7 separate regions of the Homo sapiens genome follow, and all the other regions are linked to region 3. Evidence: promoter capture Hi-C in human tissues and cell types (Jung and others, 2019). All regions are on one chromosome and are shown on one strand. The core of a region is centred on a gene start or on the middle of the fragment in contact, and the rest is flanking DNA. Distances in the headings are between cores, read along the strand shown.

Region 1 (2,752 bases), core at 17-2,516, 330 kb before region 3:
CTTTTTTGCTCTGGTAAACTTTGAAAAATATTTTCACAGCATATATTCTTTATAAGAATACAGCTGGGAAATTCTTCCACTGTCATGCAGTCTTAAGCTTAAAGTTTGCAAAATATAGTTTTTGCTTCTTCTTTTTCTTCTTCTTCTTTATAAAAAGGCTTTTAATTCAACTTATTGACCCCAGTATTTTTGCTACATCCATTGCTAGGATCAAATCATTATACTTTTCAAAAGCGTTCCTTTAACCTGAGGTCAAACGAATGTGAAATAGGAGGAAGTTATAAAAAGACTGAAATCTAGAACACCCATAACCCTGATGTACTTTATCCAAATTTTTATGACTTTGAAGTGCACTGAATACAGAAAGAATGCAGAGCTTTTATTTTCCAACCAGAGAAACCACACACAAAAAAAGAATAAAAAAGTATTTCTTTCTCATTTCTGTAGCCAACCTCTCAATCCAAAAAAAGGAAGTGGGGGAGGATCCAAGTCAAGCCAACAAAAATAAACTGTTGCCATTGTTTATAGAGAAAATAATTCCTAGAGATATTTTTCCCCAAAAAGCCAAAAAAAAAAAAAATCACAAAGAGACTCCCTGGCTCAGTTTATTTGCTAGAGGAGAAATTGTTTAACATTTGCTTATTTTGTAAAAACTACCAATAACAAGTGGGCCCAGAAAATCCCTCCCTCTTCCTCGTGTGGTGGGAAAGCAGAGACCAGGCGAAACTGGGCCTACTGTTGGAACATTGCTCACTGTCTGGAACTGCCCAATCCTGCCCGGCTTCTGTAAGATTCCCAAGATCCATGACAACCTGAAGTCCCCAAGGGAGGGGTTTGAGTTGGATGGATGTGGCGAGGCCAGACAATGGTCAGCCTTGACTTTCCCTGTGGTGGATTGGATTGAACGCTCCAATTCTTGCCTCTTGTCTGCCTCCACATCCTTGTCACGATCTCATTGTGGGAAGAATATACCTTTTTTGTCCCTTAACTTTGAGCTCTGCCAGTGACTGTGTGCCATCTCCAGCTGCAGCCTTGCCCTCTTGCCCTGCAGCCATCGCTGTGAGAAGAGCACATCCTAGCAGAACCCGTGATGGAGAGGAGGTTGCCCTGCAGTGAAACAGAGCTGCCCCAGCTGCCCAGCCTGCTGTGGAGCCTGCAGCCCAGCCCAGCCCAGGTCAGCGAAACTACAGCAGACTCACGAAGGCATCAGCAGTAGTAAATACCTATTGTGTTAAGCCCCTGAGTTCTGGAATGCTCCACATTGCTGCATTGTTTGGTAATACAAATGAATACATACTTTCAAGTAAATATAATAATATATTATTATTATTATTCTGAGATGGAGTCTCACTCTGTCACCCAGGCTGGAGTGCAGTGGCACCATCTCAGCTCACTGCAACCTCCACCTCCCAGGTTCAAGCGATCCTCCAGCCTCTGCCTCCCAAGTTGCTGGGATTACAAGCACATGCCACCGTAACTAGCTAATATGGGTATTTTTAGTAGAGACAGGGTTTCGCCATGTTGGCCAGGCTGGTCTCGAATTCCTGACCTCAAGTGATCCACCCGCTTTGGCCACCCAAAGTGCTGGGATTGCAGCAGTGAGCCACTGCACCTGGCCAGTTCTTTTAACACTTGTACTGTAGGGAGTTTAATATGTGGCTATGTATAGGATAGACTGAAGTAGGGAACAGATAGGATCATGATCCAGATGTCAGGTAATGAACCCACAAACAAGTGTGGAGATTGTGGATTTGGGAAAGAACGGGAAGAGGAAAGAGATAGACAAAAGGTTGGCTGCAAGAAAGAAGGAAAAGGCTAAATTTTCACACTTGGGAGAAGAAGGAAATGGTGATAACTTTTGGAGAATTTGAACTTTGGAGATGATTTTAGGAAAAATAATAAGTTTAGTTTGTGCCATCCCGGGTTTGAAGTGACAACAATTTAATCTAATGGTAGTGTGGTGTAGTGGAAAGGGCTGTAGTTTTCAAATAGACCTGGCTGCTGATTCTGGCTTGACATCTTACAGGGTGAGGGGCTTTTCTGAGTAACTTAAACTCTCTAAGCCTCAGTGTCTACCCCTGTATCAGCCCTCAGGATTGTGAGGACTGTGTAGGTGGGTAGTGAGGTAGGCATCGGTGGGCATTTGGTCTTCTTAGCATCTTTCCTGTTGAGAATGCCACTCTGCTGGTTGGTGGGTCTGTAATTTACATGACCAACTTCTGTGCCACCATGACGGATCCAGGCATGGGCACATGACCCAACCAGCCAATCAGAGTCCATTTTGGGGAGATGGATATGAATGTTTGGTGAGAAAGGGGTCTTTTCTTCTGCTATCAAGAGTAGTAAGATCACGGTAAGCCTGATAGTATTATCTTCTAGGCTGCTCTGGGGAGAGAGATTGCCTGAGAATGAAGCTCACACAGAGAAAATCAAAGATGAGAAATGGAGAAAGAGAGGAGAGGGAGACCCTTATTGATATTGTTTGAACTCTTTGATCAAATAGTGTCATTCATTGAACTTCCCAGCTGCCTGAACTAATATGTGTGTATTTTTTTAATTAAGGGCATTTTAATTTGGTTTTTGGCTCTTGAAACCAAGAGTCCTGACTCAGCAGGTATTCAAGTAATAGTACGGGAGGCCGAGGTAGGCGGATCACTTGAGCTCAGGAGTGTGAGACCAGCCTGGGAAATATGGCAAAACCCTGTCTCTATGGAAAAATACAAAAATTAGTTGGGCATGGTGGTGAATGCCT
Region 2 (2,737 bases), core at 63-2,562, 440 kb after region 3:
AGTGCAGACAGCCTTGGGGAAATTGTGAATGGAGTCCCCTCTAAGTAATAACTAAGCCTGTGACAAGGACCCCTTTATCAGCTATTTTCAGAAGACGGATTCGTCACCTTGTCCTTGAAGCATAAACTTAGTAAATCTTTAACAAGGTCCATAGTACATGACAATCTGTGGTGATTAGGATGTGACACAGCAGGGTTATAAAGTCCTGAGCAAGCCTTGCACATCCAGATTGAAACTAACGGGAAGCAGAAAGACTAACATGTTCTAAAAGACAGGAAAGCAGAAATTACCAGGCACGTTTTTGCATTGGCTGCCAGGATGTTGCAAGAAAAAGAGAGATGAAAATCTCTGCCAGAGAGGAAGGACTTTGGGGAAAATCTGGTGGGAGATAAGTGTATAACACAGTTGAATAAAAATCATTGCCCTTTTCATCTACATTATTAGATATAATTAAATGCCTGAGATGTTCTCTAAAGTGACTTTAAGGGACGCTACCTAAAAATACTCAATTCTCTTAGCAGCAGGTCTCAGATGAGTTTTTATTGGCACCAATTCCACCTTCCTTGATTCTGAGCCGAAGAGCAGACTCCTTTCCAGCTGCTTTTGATTAATAAAGAGAAACCTCCAATTCCTATTCACAATTTTGTTTTGCAAGACTGAGCCTGTGTAGATTGAAGAATTCAGAGTTTCCTGTGGTGTCAAAATTCCCCATGGCCCATGTAGTTCTGAGATCCCTCCCTTGTTAACGAATGCAGTACCAAGGTCCTGGAAGGATGCAGGTAGCATAGTTGGGAGATTGAAGAAAGTCTAAGAAAGGAACTGTTTTTAAAAGTTCAGAGAGGGTTTAGGGAAGCCAACAAGGGATGTTGCAGTGCCCCGAGGTTAGCAGCAGCTGGGCGTCACCCCTTAACCTTAGGGAGAAAGGGAGAAATTACATAGAAGGACCACCTGGCAGGACCTGTGAGCTTTTTAGTAAAGGACTCCTGAGGGCACCCACGCAGGGAGGAAAGGAGTAACTGCCCACCTCACTCTCCTCCTGCCCCCCAGCCTCCTACTGGGGCCTATCCTTGGCCAAACTCAACAGCAACCAGACAGGAAGTCACCATGCACGAGTCCTGCAGTGTCTGCTTCTCAGAGCAGAGCCCAGGAGAACAGGGCCCAGAGGAGCTCCAGAGGGAAAAGTAGAAAGTACAGGTGATCCTCATTATCCACCTATCTGCTGAAATTTCTTTGTAGCCTCCAAATCAATACTCCTTGGTACTTTTGTGGTCATTCAGGGATATGTACAGAGCATCAAAAGATTTTACCACTCAACTATGTTTCCAGCTGAGGCCGAACCAGGCAACACTCTGCTTCTTGTTGCAGCTCTCATCCCATTGTCAGAGGTGTTCAAACCAGACTGACTCCATCTTGAGTGAGGGCTAGGAAAATGAGGCTGGGACTTGCTGGGCTGCCTTCCCAGAAGGTCAGGCATTCTGAGCCTCTAGATGTTTATGGTTAAGGGATCAAATTAATAATGTTTACTAGACAGACCCAGACTTGAGAGTGTCTAGATATCTCAATATCTGGAGAAGAAAGGCGTTCCTGATTTTTCTTTAAAGCTAATAATATCGATTTTTGCAAAATACAGTAATTAAGAAAATTAATCCTTTATCACAGATCCTCATAGCAGAGCACATCTCCCCATATATACGAGTAATGTACCTGGGATGGATGTGTTCCTCCTCTTACTTTCAGGAACAGCCTCCTCTGTCTATGGAGTAGCTGTACTTTGACCACTTTTTACTTTCTTAATAAACTTGCTTTTACTTTGCACTGTGGACTTGCCCTGAATTCTTTCTTACACTAGGTCCAAGAACCCTCTCTTGGGATCTGGATTGGGACCCCTTTCCTGTAACACCATGAACAGGCCCCCTTTTGGTGGTCTACTTTATGCCATGTTTTTCACATTTGTGTGGATTTTGTTGGCGGTTTGCTGTTTAGAATGGCTTTCTGGGGTTCCTAAGTGCAAGAACACTGCCATGTGTAAGTTACATAAGCTTTGTTCAAGTGTGAGTTCTAGTGCTGTTGGCTATATATTTAATGTTAATGAATCAACAATATATATTTAGTTAGATGTCTTTAAACAAAACACATAAAACAAGTGTAGGTATTGATTGGTTAATGAAAATGTTGTAACCAGAGGCTCCCAGGAACTGAACCTTGCATTTTCCCTAGGAAGCGGACAAGTATTCACTAATTCACAGTGACTTTATAGAACATAACTACCTCAGATGACGAGAACTGACTGTATCTAGCACACAAAACTGTTGTTTTACAGAACAGCAGGTCTTGCCATTGCAGAATTGCTGCTGAATGTAATAAACATTATATGAACTTAACTAGGCCAGTCTCTGGCTTCTATTCGTCAAAATTGTTTCTATTCAGGAATAGTTGCCAGTAAGAAGCATTAAGTGTTTATATCCATAGACTATCCCAGGAGATAGAGACATCAACAGAACATATTCAGGGATTACTGTTTACGTCTCATCCAAGCGTGGTGGTTAAACCTTTAGAGCTAGCTCATGTCCACTTTACCCTTGACTGACAGTGGTCCTGGAGCCGTGAAAGTCACATGGCACATCCTCAGTGTTACAGCGATTCTCCACAACAGTAGTGGCAGTGAGTAGGGAACTTGGCCAGTGGAGTTTGGGTGGCTGTTCTGCCTTTGCCGGATGCCAGCACATACTGCCCTACT
Region 3 (2,752 bases), core at 94-2,593:
CAGATTTCTGTCCAGCTGAAACATCAAACTCCTGTGTGATGAATGAAATATAACATCACATATAAAAAACTGATGAATGTGATTCAGCCATAAGAAGTCCTATCTAGTGGACAGATCAATATAATTACCTCATAAGAAGTTATTACAGCGGGAGAAACTGGACCTGGCTTTACCTTGAGTTCTTAAGCAAGTAACTGGCCTTCAATTTCTTCATCCACACAAGAAATAGTTGCTATGGTTGTCTCCAACACTTCTAAAACCCATCATTCTGGCAGGTTGTAACAATCAAAAGTATTTTATCACCAAAGGCAAGGATTTAAGTAACTTTTCTAAGCCACAGATTTACTATGGTTTTGTCTGAGAAAAAAAAAAAAAAGGATGGACCCCAAACTGTCTAAAATTCAAAAAAACAAATACATTTAAGTTCATGAACCCTTTAAAAAGTTGACAAACCATGCATAACCAAACATAAAGATAATTAAAATTTTAGGATAAGCAAATGAGAGATAATTTTTTTTAAGAAATGAGAAAGTAAAACAAAATTAACCTAACAAGGCAGGCAGCGATTCGTTGCTCACTTCCCTTTCTGCTGGTTTCATTTCCCTTCTTAGGTGAAAACACTCTTAATATGTAAATCAGTCCACTAAAGACTTCAGAGTCCTTTCTGCTAAGATTTGCAGAAATTTTTATGCAAAAGAAATTATTTCTAGACTTCCACGCACTAGAAAAGCAGACTTACAAAATACAGCAAACTAAAGTGGATAAATGTATGTGGCAAAGCAGAAGCAATTAATCAAGGATCCTACTTTTAAGCATTTAGAAATGTTTAAATAGTAAAAAGTGGAAATGTGGATATTCTATGATTTTTAATAACTTGGTAGTAAAAAGTGAGACTCCATTTAGGAGTACCTACTAAGTGCCAGGTACTATTAAGCACTTGGGATCTTTCTGGTTTAGGGCCCCTACAATCCTACTGGATATAGTATTATCTCTATTTCAACTGTACAGAAATGAAGTAGGAACAAAGGGTTAGTCAGAGTGGGTAGGTAACTAGACAAAGTCACATAGCTTATAAAGCAAAGAAGCTAGACTTTAAACCCCCTTTTACTCAATATCAAATCTTCTCTTTCCATAGATGATGCAGACTTCAAGCATCAAAGTACACAAACTGAAGAAACTTTATCCTTTGTATATAATTATCTTAAATATATGCCATCATTTCAAGGGGAGCTTATGCTAAGTGTGACTTCATAAACAAATCATTTGTGAAAGAGAAAAACCACATCCAGGGTAAAGTCATAAGGTGAAAAAGCCTATTTCAGAGAGCACTTCCTGAAAGAGACAAAGCAGCAATTAAAGTCAGCCCAGCACCAACTCCGACGCCAAGCGTTACACTGGAAACTACTTTTTAAAGCAACAAAAGAGTCTAAAACAAAATACAACATTTCTTAAATACACTGTTTCCAGAAAGAGCTATTTTAACAGAAGCAACTCAAAGATATCCCTTCGACAGAAGTGGAAGTGCTGAAAAATGCTCATCTCTCACACAGACTTTTGATGGACAGGAGGTAAGCAGCATTTAATTAACTTCATGATTATTGTCAAAAGTAATGCTTTATGTACTGCATTTCAAAAATCATTTCATTTTAATAATACAGGCTGGGCGCAATGGCCCACGCCTGTAACTCCAACACTTTGGGAGGCCAAGGCAGGAGGATCAGTTGTGCCCAGGAGCACCATAGTGAGACCCCGTCTCTATTAAAAAAATATATTTAATTAAAAAAATAAACATAACAAACTATGTTGGTGAAAGACCTTGAAATAGGCTATATAATCATCTTTCCACATTAATATGATTTTACATTTATTTTCAATATTGCTTTACATTAATACTAAATGTAATTTTTTTCAACTTAAGGAAAGAAAATGTTTATGGTAAATCATATGTATATTTAGGAATGTTCATCACATGTTTTCAATTACATTGTTTCATGAAATAACTTAATGGTTTTTAAGAAAAGAAAAGCTACAGATAATCATGGTATCTATAGCTTTTAAAAAGCTGACTTTAAAGTCAATCACTTTTCAATATTTATCCAAAAATTTCTGTGTTTGCAGAGCACAATCAATACTATAATGCCTTTAAAACACATGCATCACTCATTTTTTTTCAAACGTCAGCAAATGAATATAAGTATTGGTGACAAGCTACATAAAAACAGCTTGAGCATAACGTGGGAAAAAAGACTCAAGATGGTTTGTAAGTACAGGACTTATGTCACAAAATTGAAGGATGAGGATAGGTGAAGGGAGTCCTGATGCAATACTAAAAAAAGAAAAACAAATACAAAATTTCATTTATATTATAATTGCTACTATTTAATAAGAATGCATTCCAGTTAAAAATAAGATTTAAGCCTCCAAGATTACTCTCCTTTGAATGACACTAGAGATATAATTTTTCTCTGTAGCACTTTCCTCATTTGATAGAAATTAATATTCTAGTCACACCAATATTTGGAAAATTTAATATGTTTTTAAATATATAGAATTATGCTCCTAAATCATATTTAACCTAAATATTTGAGAAGGAAAGAAGGAGAAGAAGGGAAGAAAGGGAAGGGAAGGGAAGGGAAAGGAAGGAAGGCAGACAGGCACGTTTCTTGTGTTTAACCACAGCAATTGCTCAAGTTAATTCTTAATTATCAATAGCCCGTGATGCCACTGACCACAGACAGCAAATCTCCCCCAT
Region 4 (2,700 bases), core at 121-2,620, 390 kb after region 3:
TGTATGTTGAGTCTTTATTAATGTCCTGTATTCTTTTTACGTTTGAAGAGAGTTGAGCTCATAGGGATGTCTTTGTCTTCACTGAGTAAATCAAATTGAACAAATTAGTCTGTCAGGTCTGTCAAGCAATAGCTCTTGAGCTTAATTCCTTGTATGTACTCAGGTATTTTGTGCTAAGGGAGAGAAAAAGTGGAAGGATGCCACCAAACTGCTAATGGCACCTGAATCAACTGCTTCTGAATTCCGAGAGAAACACACTAAGGCATTCATTCAGTCTGTTTCCCCCAAACAGACTGGTACTGCCTTTTAAGGATCAGGCAGGGGGACTGTGGCCCTGGAGTTGGCATTCATGCATTCAACAAATATTTACCCCGCACCAACTGTGTCGAGCTTCAGAATAAGTTGTGTACAACCTGGATGACAATCCCCGGCTATTCTACATACACCTGGATGACAATCCCCGGCTATTCTACATACACAAGATACATAGAATGTCAGACACTGATGCATCCTAAGGAGAACAAACAAAGCAAGGAAAGGGGATATGAAAAGGGGTGACATTTGAGACAGGGTGGCCAGATAACAGTTGGAAGAAAGTGAGGGGTGAGCCAAGCACCCGCATATCTGGGGGAGACTTTTTCTGGGCTGAGAGAACAGATAGGTATTCAGTGTCCCCTGATCTAACCCTGGCCCCCCACCTCTGTGGTCTCACACCCCCCTATTCTGCACATTCCAGGCATCCCTGCCAACTCCCAGCTCCTCAAACATATCATGCCACCCCTCCACCTCAAATAGCCCCCTCCCTGGGGAATCCTCATCTTCCTCCCCAAGCCAGCCACTCCACACCTCCTGCATGGGGCCTCCCAGGGTCTCCTCACTCTCTTCCACTTCCTCAACTGGAATTAACCACTCTTTCCTGCCCTGTGCCCCCAACCTCACCACAGCCTCCCTCAGCCCAGTCTCCTGTACCTGGGGACTCTCCTTCCTTCCACCTGGTACAGAGCCCAGGGAGCTCTTTTTGCCCAGTGGCTGTGTAGTGAATGTGTGCTGATGCCCATCTCCCCATGACCCAGCAGGGCAGCACAAGCTCTTATAGACTTCTAGGGTATTTGGTAGCAAGACGGGCTTCGCTCAGTCGATGGGGGGATATATGGGAGTAATTTGCCTTACTACACTGACAGGAATAAATGTTTTTTAGAATTTTCATTTTCTTTCTTCTCACTTACCTCCCACCCCTGCCTTCACCTCCTTTCTTGTGTTAGTCTATTCGTGTGCTATAAAGGAATACATGAGACTGGGTAATTTATAAAGAAAAGAGGGCCAGTGCAGTGGCTCGCACTTACAATCCCAGCACTTTGGGAGGCTGAACTGGGAGGATCACTTGAGCCTAGGAGTTCGAGATCATCCTGGGAAGCATAACAAAACCCTGTCTCTACAAAAAAACAGAAACAAAAATTAGCCTGATGTGTTGGTACACATCTGTAGCCTCAGCTACATGGGAGGCTGAGGTGGGAGGATGACTTAAGCCCAGGAGGCAGAGATTGCAGTGAAATCTGCAATCTAGGCAGATTATGCCACGGCACTCCAGCCTGAGCAACAGAGCAAGACCCTCTCTCAAAAAAAATAAGAAAAGACATTTATTTTGGCTCACAGTTTTGCAGTTTGTACAAGAAGCATGGCGCCAACATTGGCTTCTGGTGAGGCCTCAGGAAGCTTCCAATCATGGTGGAGGGCAAGGGGGGAGCCAGCATGTCACATGGCGAGAGAGGGAGCAAGAGACGAGGAGTGAGGCGCCACACTCTCGTAAACAACCAGATCTCGCATGAACTCAAAGCGAGAACTCACTCATTATGGCAAGGAGGGCACCAAGCCATTCATGAGGGATTCGCCCCCATGACCCAAACACCTCCCACCAGGCCCCACCTCCAACACTGGGGATCACATTTCAACATGAGATTCAGAGGGGACACACATCCAGACCATGTAATTTCTCATGCACATTCATACACACAACCATAGATGTGTGAGCACACTCCCAGTTAAACCATAAGTAGTTTCTTCCAAGAGACATGTGAACTCAAGCTATGACTTATAGTTTTGATAAACTAGGTGAAATAATCATAAACAATGAACATAATCTAGAAAATGAATACTCTCCCCCTTCTATTAAAGGGTTTCATAGAACTTGGGCCCATATTTTGGCTAGATTTAGGAGTAACTGTCTGATAGGGGACAAAAGGCAAAGGGAGAGGTCTATAGACTTTCCTTTAATAATGGAGTCAGTCTGACAATTCACAACCTAGCTTCAGCTTCCTGAAATTGTATTTTATCTTCAGAGTGATGTTTAGCTGTTTTTATGTACCCTTCCTAAGTAGAGTTCATGTTTGCTCCTATCTGTTTTCCAGAAGAGCTCTCAGTTTTGTCATTTAGCTTGCTGGTGATTTACCAGTTTGGTTTGATGCTTTGTCCACTTCAATTTTAGTTTATATTAAATTTGTATTTGTTTTCAGAGGTGGAGAAATATTAGGAGAATAGCTTAGGAAATACTGCATTAAATAAGTTCTTCATTCAGGGATAGCAGAATAAGTAGGTTATATATTAATTTGTTTATCTTAAATCCACTGGGTTTTAATGGAGTATATAGACATTAATGACCAGGAAAGGAATATATGAACTCATGTAATAACATTTTAATGAGCC
Region 5 (2,700 bases), core at 86-2,585, 360 kb before region 3:
TGAGGGTGCCGCCCCTTCTGAGGACCTAAAGGGTCAACACCACACAACCAAAAACATCTCCCTTAATGTCAGGAGAAGGCGGTAAAACCAATTGAGTGCAGGCTGTACCAATAAGTTTGGGGGAGGCAGAGCTTTTATCTTCAATCTCTGGTCAAATTGAGCTCAAATGGACCAAAATAACTTAGAGCTCAAAAAGCTATATACTTTTTATTTCTGAATTCCCCAAGGTCGTCTTACTTGAGGGCAATAATTCCTTTCTAGACTCTGGAATGTCAACTGGCAGGAAGAAACTTGTCCATCCTCCTTTTGATGGGTGAGAAAAATAAGGCACAATCTAGATAAGGGCCTTGAACAAGGTCAAGGGCCAACTGCGGGTCAGCATTGGACTTGAACCCCAGAGTATCTATCCAGGAGCTTCCTGCCTATAGCAGAGTTAGTAACTTGATTTTAAACTTGTTTTTGACAATTGTAAGAAAAAATTAAAGAGCACCTGAGGATATTAAAACAATTCTGATTTTTAGGAGCTAGAATAAGTTTCTATCTTAATATGAACTAAAAATATTTTCCTAAAAGTAGAAACCACCTGTCTTAGTCTGTTTATGCTGCTATTTTAAAAAGTATTACACACTGGGCTAATTTATAAACAACAGAAACTTACTTCCCACAGTTCTGGAGGCTGGGGAATCTAAGATCAAGGTGCCAGCCTTGGTGTCTACAGAGGGCTGCTCTCTGCTTCCAATATGGCGCCTTATTGCTGTGTCCTCACATGGCGCAGGGTGGAAGGGCAAGACTGGAAAACTCTCTCTGAAGCCTCTTTCCAATGATACTAACCCATTCATGAGGCACAGCCCTCATGACTTAACCACTTCCTACAAGGCCCCACTTCTTAATACCACCACAATGGGAATTAAGTTTCAACATGAATTTTGGAGGGGATACCACATTCAAACCATAGTACTACCCAGGAGTGATCTGTGACTGGCTAGTATAATTCAAAGAAATCCACTTTAGGCTTAAACTTAAACATCACATTTCTGTGCTCCACATAGAACATGCACTAACAATAGCCAAAAGGTGGCAGTGATACTCAAATGTCCATCAACAGATGGATGGATAAATAAAATATGGAATAGGCACACAATAGATTATTCAGCCTTAAAAATGAATGAAAATCAGATACCTGCTGTAACATGGATGCACCTTGGAAGATATTATGCTGAGTGAAATAAGCCAAACACAAAAGGACAAATATGTGAGTCTATGTATGTGAAGTACCTAGAGTAGTCAAATTCACAGTGAAAATAATGAGAATGGTGGTTACCAGGGGCTGGGTGGGGGGAAGGGAACAGGGAGTTAGTGTTTAATGGGCACAGGGTTTCAGTGTGGGAAGATAAAAAAGTTCTGAAGATGGATGGTGGTGACAGTTGTACAACAATGTGAATGTACTTAATGCCACTAAACTGTACACTTAAAGATGGTTAAAATGGGCCGGCCATGGTGGCTCACGCCTGTAATCCCAGCACTTTGGGAGGCCGAGGCGGGTAGATCACCTGAGGTCAGGAGTTCGAGACCAGCCTGGCCAACATGGTGAAACCCCGTCTCTACTAAAAATACAAAAAATTAGCCAGGCGTGGTGGCGGGCACCTGTAATCCCAGCTACTCGGAGGCAGAGGCAGGAGAGTTGCTTGAACCCAGGAGGCAGAGGTTGCAGTGAGTGAGATCGCACCACTGCACTCCAGCCTGGGGGCAGAGCTAGACTCCACCTCAAAAAAAAAAAAGTTAAAATGATAATTTTGTTATGTATAATTTACCAAAATAAAGAAAAAAAATCCACTAAATCTTTAGAAACACTCAAAATATTTCATTCCTAAATCTGTTCTTTTTTCCTTCTGCAAATTTATATCAGGCACTGCCAAGGATTGTTTTAGGTTCTGGATATATAGTAGCAATGGAATAAACCAAGTCCCTGCTCTCATGAATATCTGGGGGCTGGGGTAGGATACAGGCGGACAATAAACAAATAAGCATGTGATATGTCTGGTGGAAATGGGGCAATAGGAAAAAATGAAAACAGCAGTAAGGGGACAGGGTAGTGCAGAGGCTGCTTAGCGGGGTGGAGGCTATGTTGTACAGGGTGGTCAAGGAAGACCTCTCTGATTTGTGACATTTGAGCTGAGGCACAAAGGGACAGAGGGCTTCAGGCTGACGACACAGCCCAGAAGAGGAGGCCGGTGAGGCTGCAACAGGCTAGGGAGAGAGGAGGTCATAAGGAGGGCTGGAGCACAGAGCTACTTCTTCAGTTTCTCATAAACTTTTAAAGGGACCGTTTATAGGTCAGTATAGAAATATTTCCTCTACCATCCATGTGTCTTTCATTTGCCTTAAAATGAACAGAAAAAACTCTTACATCTTCTGAAAGGCGTTCGTGAGGGCAGCCTGCAGACTGCAGAGACTGCGTGCATCTCCCATTGCTAGAGCGGAGCGCCCTCCAGTGCCTCACTACGAAAACAGCACTTGGCATGGGGTTTTCTGTTTGCTGTTTTCATTTCCTAAACTTTTGTTTTTGGCCACAGAATAATGTGGGCATATCAACCTTCTCACAAAGAATACTGTGAGACTAAGTAAGAAGACAAGTCAAGTGTATGCTTTCAAACAAGCCTGCACTACTTCCAAAGTGGTACAAAGTATATGTGTGCAATG
Region 6 (2,700 bases), core at 150-2,649, 340 kb after region 3:
TTCCTCTTTCTTGTTCTACTTTCTTGTTTTGGGGGAGCACATCTTCTGCAGCTTTCTGAGGAATTGTGTGTGAGATGTTAATTTTTTGAGAATTAGGGTATCTGTTCATATCTTAATTTTTGCATTCATGCTTGACTCATAGTTTGGCTAGTTATAAAATTCAAAGTGAAATCATTTTACCTTGGAATTTCAAGGGCATCCCATTGCCATCTAGTTTCCACTGTCGTTTGGAAGGTTCTGATGTTATTCGAAATCCCTGTTCTTTGTGGTCTTCTCTTTAGTGTTCTAAAATTTTGGTTGTTGTGTCTTGATTTTTATTTTATGCTTTGGTAAGCTTTTTTGTTAAGTTATAACATATAAATAGAAAATAAGGTATAACATATAAATAGAAAATATATGCCTAATGCATGTGTGACTCGGTGGATCTTTCTGGAGCTCGGCTCTTTCTTATCTTTGTGCTGTTTTATTTCCCGTCATTCTGGAGACTCTGCCCTGCATATTCTGGCCACCTTGGTCTTCCCCAGGTCTCGTCAGTGTCTTCTACTCAGCAAGATGGCAGGGCTCTTTTTGGATTCCCCTTCCTGTGCTGCAATTCAGATACTGCCTCCAGGCAGAAAGCTGAGGCAATTTGGGGCTCACTTCAGTCTTTCCCTTCTACAGAGAAAGGGCTGCACTGCCTTTTGTCCCCTATCTGAAAACAGTTATTTCATGTATTTTGTCCACTTTTCTAGCAATGATGGTGGGAGGCTAAGTCCAGATCCTGTTTCTTCCTTATGGTCAGCAGTGGAAGGGAGGGGTCCAGAATCAGATGTCTGCAGGGACCAAGGAGGTCAATTAAGTGACAGAGAGGCCTGGTTGCAAAGCAATAGGGAATGCCGGGGTGACCTGGAGCCCAGTGCCCCATTTAAAGGGGGCATCTCCTGCCCACCTGCAGCTGGTGCCGCCAGGTGGAACCCCCGGCTCAAAGGTGCCAGATCATCTGGTTTCTCAAAAAGCAAGAAATACAGAATTTGAGTTAAACTTTGGTAACTTTAGTTATTGGTAACTAACTTTAAAAACCACTTTGAAAAATAAATAAAAAACACCAACAGGTAATTTGAGAGGATACAAAAAGCAAACAAACAAAATACCACTGTGCAGTACCCCCGCCCTGCCGAAAAAAAAAAAAAGAAAAAAAAAGGTAAAATACATGAAAGTATATTTGGGCCCACGTTCAAGACTGTAGCACCACTTAATGCTCACTGAAAATTGTTTTCAGTCAACAGCTAATGTGGATGTCTCTTAGCTGGCAATTCAGCCTTCTCTGAAGGCCACCACTATGAACAATCTAATTATATCAGAGTATGTTCATTGACAATGTCTGTGAAGTAAGGAGTGCCAGAGTGATTTATCAGTGACAGTGAATTGACTTCTTGGGTGGGATTCCCAAGTAGGAGTTTTATTTGTATTCTTTAGTCAAAAGACCTTTAAGTTACTTTTTAGCTGAATTTTCTGGCACTGACTTTAAAAAGAAGGTTAAAGCAAAACTAAATGTATTTGGCAACCTCATTTTTTAAAGTAGGAAGTAATTATTTTTGTTTTATAAGAGAGTTTTGCTGCCTGTTTCTGGCCCAGGGACAGATGTTTATAAGTACAACTGCCCTGAGCTATCAATTAGTCTCCGGGGTGCATTTCAAAATCTAAGGTTCTGACTTCAATGGAAGTCTCTTCCTTCAAATTGTCTTTGCAGATGCAGCTGATGGTGTTTTCATTTAATAAAGTGTATCCAAGGCTTCAAAAGAGTAAAATAATTTGTTTTTATCTGTGTCTGTTTGTAAACTAAGCATCAAAAGTTGTGATTTAAGTGTTTTTAAAAATTATTACTTATGGATATTATAAAAAAATTAGTTGACTGGTGCTGTGAATTAAAAAAAGTGCCTAAACTAAAAAATTTTGAAGCATTTTAGAACCCTTGAAATTTATTATACTTATTTTGCAGATGAGAAAACTGAGGCTCAGAAACAGAAATTTAGAATTGAGGCCTAATGTTTTTTTCTCCACTTTTAACTTTCTCTTTTCATGATTGTGAGTATGCAGGGAAAGGAGGAGAGAAAATTCATTTTGTTTCAAGCCTTTGACTTCTTCCCTGGTTCTTGCCTTGAAGTTTAAGTGGAATCCAAAGTGGCAATTACTGAGCCCACAGCAGACAGTCTGTGCACAAGAGTGTGTGGCTTTGCCAAGGGGAGCACTTGACTTTGCATTTCTAAGAACTGTGCTGCAGAATCACAGAGACTTTTGGGAGGGTTGCCCTGTCCCTGAGACCTCCACCAAGGAACTCTTAGAGAGAGTGTGGATAACCCAGTAGGATTTTAGTGGCTATGCGGGGGGCTGTCCTGCTGGCTCAGGTTAGTGGGAGTGTTTGATTTCATATCGCTCAGCCTGTCCTTACAGGGGATCTTGTGCCATGATCCTCAGAGCTGAACCTCTGTCTACTGCGGCCAACCTGGGGAGATTTTGCTCCCTGGAGGACATCTTGGAATGTCTGAAGACTGGCATCTATTGGCTTAAGGCCATAAATTTCGCTAAACATTGTACAATGCATGGACCAGCCACTCACAACAAAGAATTGGCTGCCCAAGTGTCAGTAGTACCGAGATTGAGAAATCCTGGCCTAGTGCATGTTCATCTTCCGTCTGTTACTGCACATGGACTACTGTTCTT
Region 7 (2,939 bases), core at 111-2,610, 310 kb before region 3:
GAGCGGCAGCTGGGGACGGAGGGCAGGTGCGCTCACTTTTGTACACCATGAGCTTAGTGTTCCCGAGGACCACGCAGGCTGTGCAGCAAGCAGGTGCTGTGAGTGGAGATGGAGGCGCTGACTCTAAACACGAGAGTGAAACTGGACAGAGAACACCAAGTGAGAAGTAGGTCAAAGAGGGAAAGATGGAATAGGGCAGCAACTCCCGCTGGGGGCAGAAGTGGAGCCCCCAGAGGAGACTGACAGAGGCGGAATTGAGGGGAAGAGAAGTGGGTAAGCAGCGTCTCCTGTTTTAACGCACTTCTCCAGAACACGTGCAGGGCAAGCACATGTTTGTGACAATCTTCTTGCGATTCTATGAGGAAGGTTCAGACCCAGACTATGAGGAACACGGCTTTCAGGACAAGGTTTCCAAGAGAGACTGAGTGTCGTGTCAGTAAAGAGCTGGTAAAATTAGGGCTGGACCAGGTGGTGGGGGCGCTGAGGAGCTCGGCAACAAGGTTACCAGCAGAATCCTCGGAAAACAAGAAGCCGATGGCAAAGCCAGGTGGGAGAGGCAAGGAGAAGAGGGAGAAATCGGTCAGACGGGTTGTTTTCACTAAAAATGAAAAAAAAAAAAAAAAACAACAACTAGCAGAAAGTTGGACGTGTTTTAAAATGGAAAGCATGGAGAGGGAGGGTTTAAACACAGAAGGGAAAATAAAGAGGAAAGACTCTCGAACAGACAGGAAGAAGGCGGGGTGAGGCTGTAACTAGGTTCGAGGTGAAGGTACAGTTGGAGAAACTGTGGGAGACACCAAGGGGCTACGGCGCTGCCCGAAAGCTTGGGCGGCCTTCTTGATGTGCGGGGCAAGGAGGCAAATGCAGACAGAATGCCGCCCTTAGCCGGCGAGCAGGACGACCCTGCGGCACGGCTGGGTCTCTAGAAATGACCTGGGCAGATAGAAGGCATGGGAATGGCAAAAGGCCATTTCTCCAGCAGGAAAACACTGCAGTTACCTAGCTTCCCGGTCTTGGCTACACGTCCCCCTCCTTCGCAGCTGCCTGCGGCTATCATGACTCATGGAGGAGACTTCTCCCCGGGGTTCCTGGTCACTGGGGTCTCACAACATGCGCAACGCAACTGTTTCTGTCCCGGGCCACACTCAAGCTAAGGAGACGGACCCCTGCTTCTAACCGCCTGCCATGCTGAGGGACGCTTTCCTGGAGAACTTTCTGGGAAAGCCGCAGCAGCGCACCCCTCAGGACGGCGGGATCCAAGCCCTGGAGAGGGGTCTTTTCTCCACCGCCCTCCTCACTTGGCAGGCCTTCCTTGTCACTGTCTCCTTCCTCGGCTTTCCACCCTCCCTCCCTCCTAAGTCTTTTCCTTTATCACTCCAATTTCATTTTCCCAACTGCCTCTCCACTGTTTACGTGTGAAATACGGTTACTTAAATATATGAAGAAAAAGGCCGGACGCGGTGGCTCACGCCTGTAATCCCAGCACTTTGGGAGGCCGAGGTTGCGGCGGGGTGGGGGGGTGGATCACTTGAGGTCAGGAGTTCGAGACCAGCCTGGCCAACATGGTGAAACCCCGTATCTACTAAAAATACAAAAAATTAGCTGGGCGCAGTGGCGGGTGTCTATAATCCCAGCTGCTCCAGAGGCTGAGGCCGGAGAATCGCTCGAACCCACGAGGCGGAGGTTGCAGTGAACTGAGATAGTGCCATTGCACTCCAGCCTGGGCAACAAGAGTGAAACTCTGTCTCACAAACAAAACAAAACAAAACGAAGAAAAAGTTACACCAACTCTATCAGCTGACTTTTAAATCACTAAGCTAACTGTTCACTAAAGGAAAAATAAAATTGAAGAAACTTAACTTTGGCCAATAAAAACTAATCTGGTGTCTCAATCAGGATTTTTAAAAACTAAAACCTTCTCTTTGTTGAGTCAACCAGCCTATCTCAACAGCTCCCTAAGAGAATTACAGTTGGCCTTCCTTATCTGGGGGTTCTGCATATGCAGATTTAAGCAACAACAGATCAAAAATGCTCGAAAATAAATTTTAAAAAACCAATACAATAAAAATACAAATGGAAAATAGAGTATAACAAGTATTTACAGAGCACTTACATTGTATGAGGTATTGTGAGTAAACTAGAGATGATTTAAAGCACATGGGAGGATGTACATAGATTATTTGCAAATACTTGCCATTTTTATATCAAGGACTTGAGCATCCATGGATTTTTGGTAACCACAAGGGTTCTGGAACCAATCTCCCATAAATACTAAGGGACAACTCTACCCATAAAAAATAAATACAAGAGATACATAAAACTGAAAGAAACTCTTCTATCTTAAATATTCCATGTTAAAAATGAACAGAGCTCCTCCTTTACTCTTCAAAACCAACAGGTCCGTTTTTTTAAAAAAGGACAGTGACATAAAATTATTCAGTAAGGCTGGGCGCAGTGGCTCACACCTGTAATCCCAGCACTTTGGGAGGCCGAGGCGGGCAGATCACCTGAGGTCAGGAGTTTGAAACCAGTGTGACCAACATGGAGAAATGCCGTCTCTACTAAAAATACAAAATTAGCCGGGCGTGGTGGCACATGCCTGTAATCCCAGCTACTCAGGAGGCTGAGGCAGGAGAATTGCTTGAACCTGGGAGGCGGAGGTTGTGGTGAGCCGAGATCTCGCCATTGCACTCCAGCCTGGGCAACAAGAAGGAAACTCTGTCTCAAAAAAAAAAAAAAATTATTCAGTAAGAACCCAGCAATATCATATAAGTGACAGCTAGTAATTTTAGTTGTAAGTTTAATGACAGTATCTGATTTGCTCTCCTAAGCAGCAAGCAGAGAGACCCTAAAATACAAATGAATATGCTCACAGATACAAGCAGACCGATACTTCAGAATCACCCCCCATTCCTATATTCTACATAAATGGATTTCAA

Evidence for each region. Contacts are between HindIII fragments. The study calls those that stand out against the background at their distance.
Region 1: a fragment that was not itself captured here is called in contact with the fragment with the promoter of GPR18 in region 3 in 2 of the 25 tissues and cell types used here (IMR-90 fibroblasts and spleen).
Region 2: a contact is called between a fragment that was not itself captured here and the fragment with the promoter of GPR18 in region 3, in 1 of the 25 tissues and cell types used here (dorsolateral prefrontal cortex).
Region 4: a contact is called between a fragment that was not itself captured here and the fragment with the promoter of GPR18 in region 3, in 1 of the 25 tissues and cell types used here (lymphoblastoid cells).
Region 5: a contact is called between a fragment that was not itself captured here and the fragment with the promoter of GPR18 in region 3, in 1 of the 25 tissues and cell types used here (spleen).
Region 6: a contact is called between a fragment that was not itself captured here and the fragment with the promoter of GPR18 in region 3, in 1 of the 25 tissues and cell types used here (hippocampus).
Region 7: a fragment that was not itself captured here is called in contact with the fragment with the promoter of GPR18 in region 3 in 3 of the 25 tissues and cell types used here (IMR-90 fibroblasts, lymphoblastoid cells and spleen).

Annotation. Positions count from the first base shown.
Region 1 is chr13:99,588,596-99,591,347 of GRCh38, reverse strand. No RefSeq gene overlaps it. Among named protein-coding and RNA genes, the nearest start is that of LINC01039, 13 kb to the right of the region's middle. The HindIII fragment of the contact is 4,544 bases long and covers 1-2,752 here.
Region 2 is chr13:98,819,565-98,822,301 of GRCh38, reverse strand. All of the region lies in intron 45 of DOCK9 (dedicator of cytokinesis 9), which reads left to right. Among named protein-coding and RNA genes, the nearest start is that of DOCK9-AS1, 11 kb to the left of the region's middle. RefSeq lists an enhancer at 956-1,456. The HindIII fragment of the contact is 3,995 bases long and covers 1-2,737 here.
Region 3 is chr13:99,256,970-99,259,721 of GRCh38, reverse strand. GPR18 (G protein-coupled receptor 18) reads left to right here and starts at 1,343. Exons shown (of 2, transcript NM_001098200.2): 1 at 1,343-1,568. All of the region lies in intron 4 of UBAC2 (UBA domain containing 2), which reads right to left. LOC124903198 (a long non-coding RNA gene) reads left to right here. Exons shown (of 3, transcript XR_007063846.1): 3 at 1,136-1,283. The HindIII fragment of the contact is 6,968 bases long and covers 1-1,356 here.
Region 4 is chr13:98,863,989-98,866,688 of GRCh38, reverse strand. The region is part of intron 30 of DOCK9 (dedicator of cytokinesis 9); the gene reads left to right. Among named protein-coding and RNA genes, the nearest start is that of DOCK9-AS1, 33 kb to the right of the region's middle. The HindIII fragment of the contact is 7,603 bases long and covers 1-2,700 here.
Region 5 is chr13:99,617,356-99,620,055 of GRCh38, reverse strand. All of the region lies in intron 1 of CLYBL (citramalyl-CoA lyase), which reads right to left. Among named protein-coding and RNA genes, the nearest start is that of CLYBL, 12 kb to the right of the region's middle. The HindIII fragment of the contact is 4,667 bases long and covers 1-2,700 here.
Region 6 is chr13:98,916,114-98,918,813 of GRCh38, reverse strand. All of the region lies in intron 7 of DOCK9 (dedicator of cytokinesis 9), which reads left to right. Among named protein-coding and RNA genes, the nearest start is that of DOCK9, 61 kb to the left of the region's middle. The HindIII fragment of the contact is 4,018 bases long and covers 1-2,700 here.
Region 7 is chr13:99,563,851-99,566,789 of GRCh38, reverse strand. TM9SF2 (transmembrane 9 superfamily member 2) reads right to left here. Exons shown (of 17, transcript NM_004800.3): 17 at 2,742-2,939. Among named protein-coding and RNA genes, the nearest start is that of LINC01039, 12 kb to the left of the region's middle. The HindIII fragment of the contact is 8,417 bases long and covers 1-2,939 here.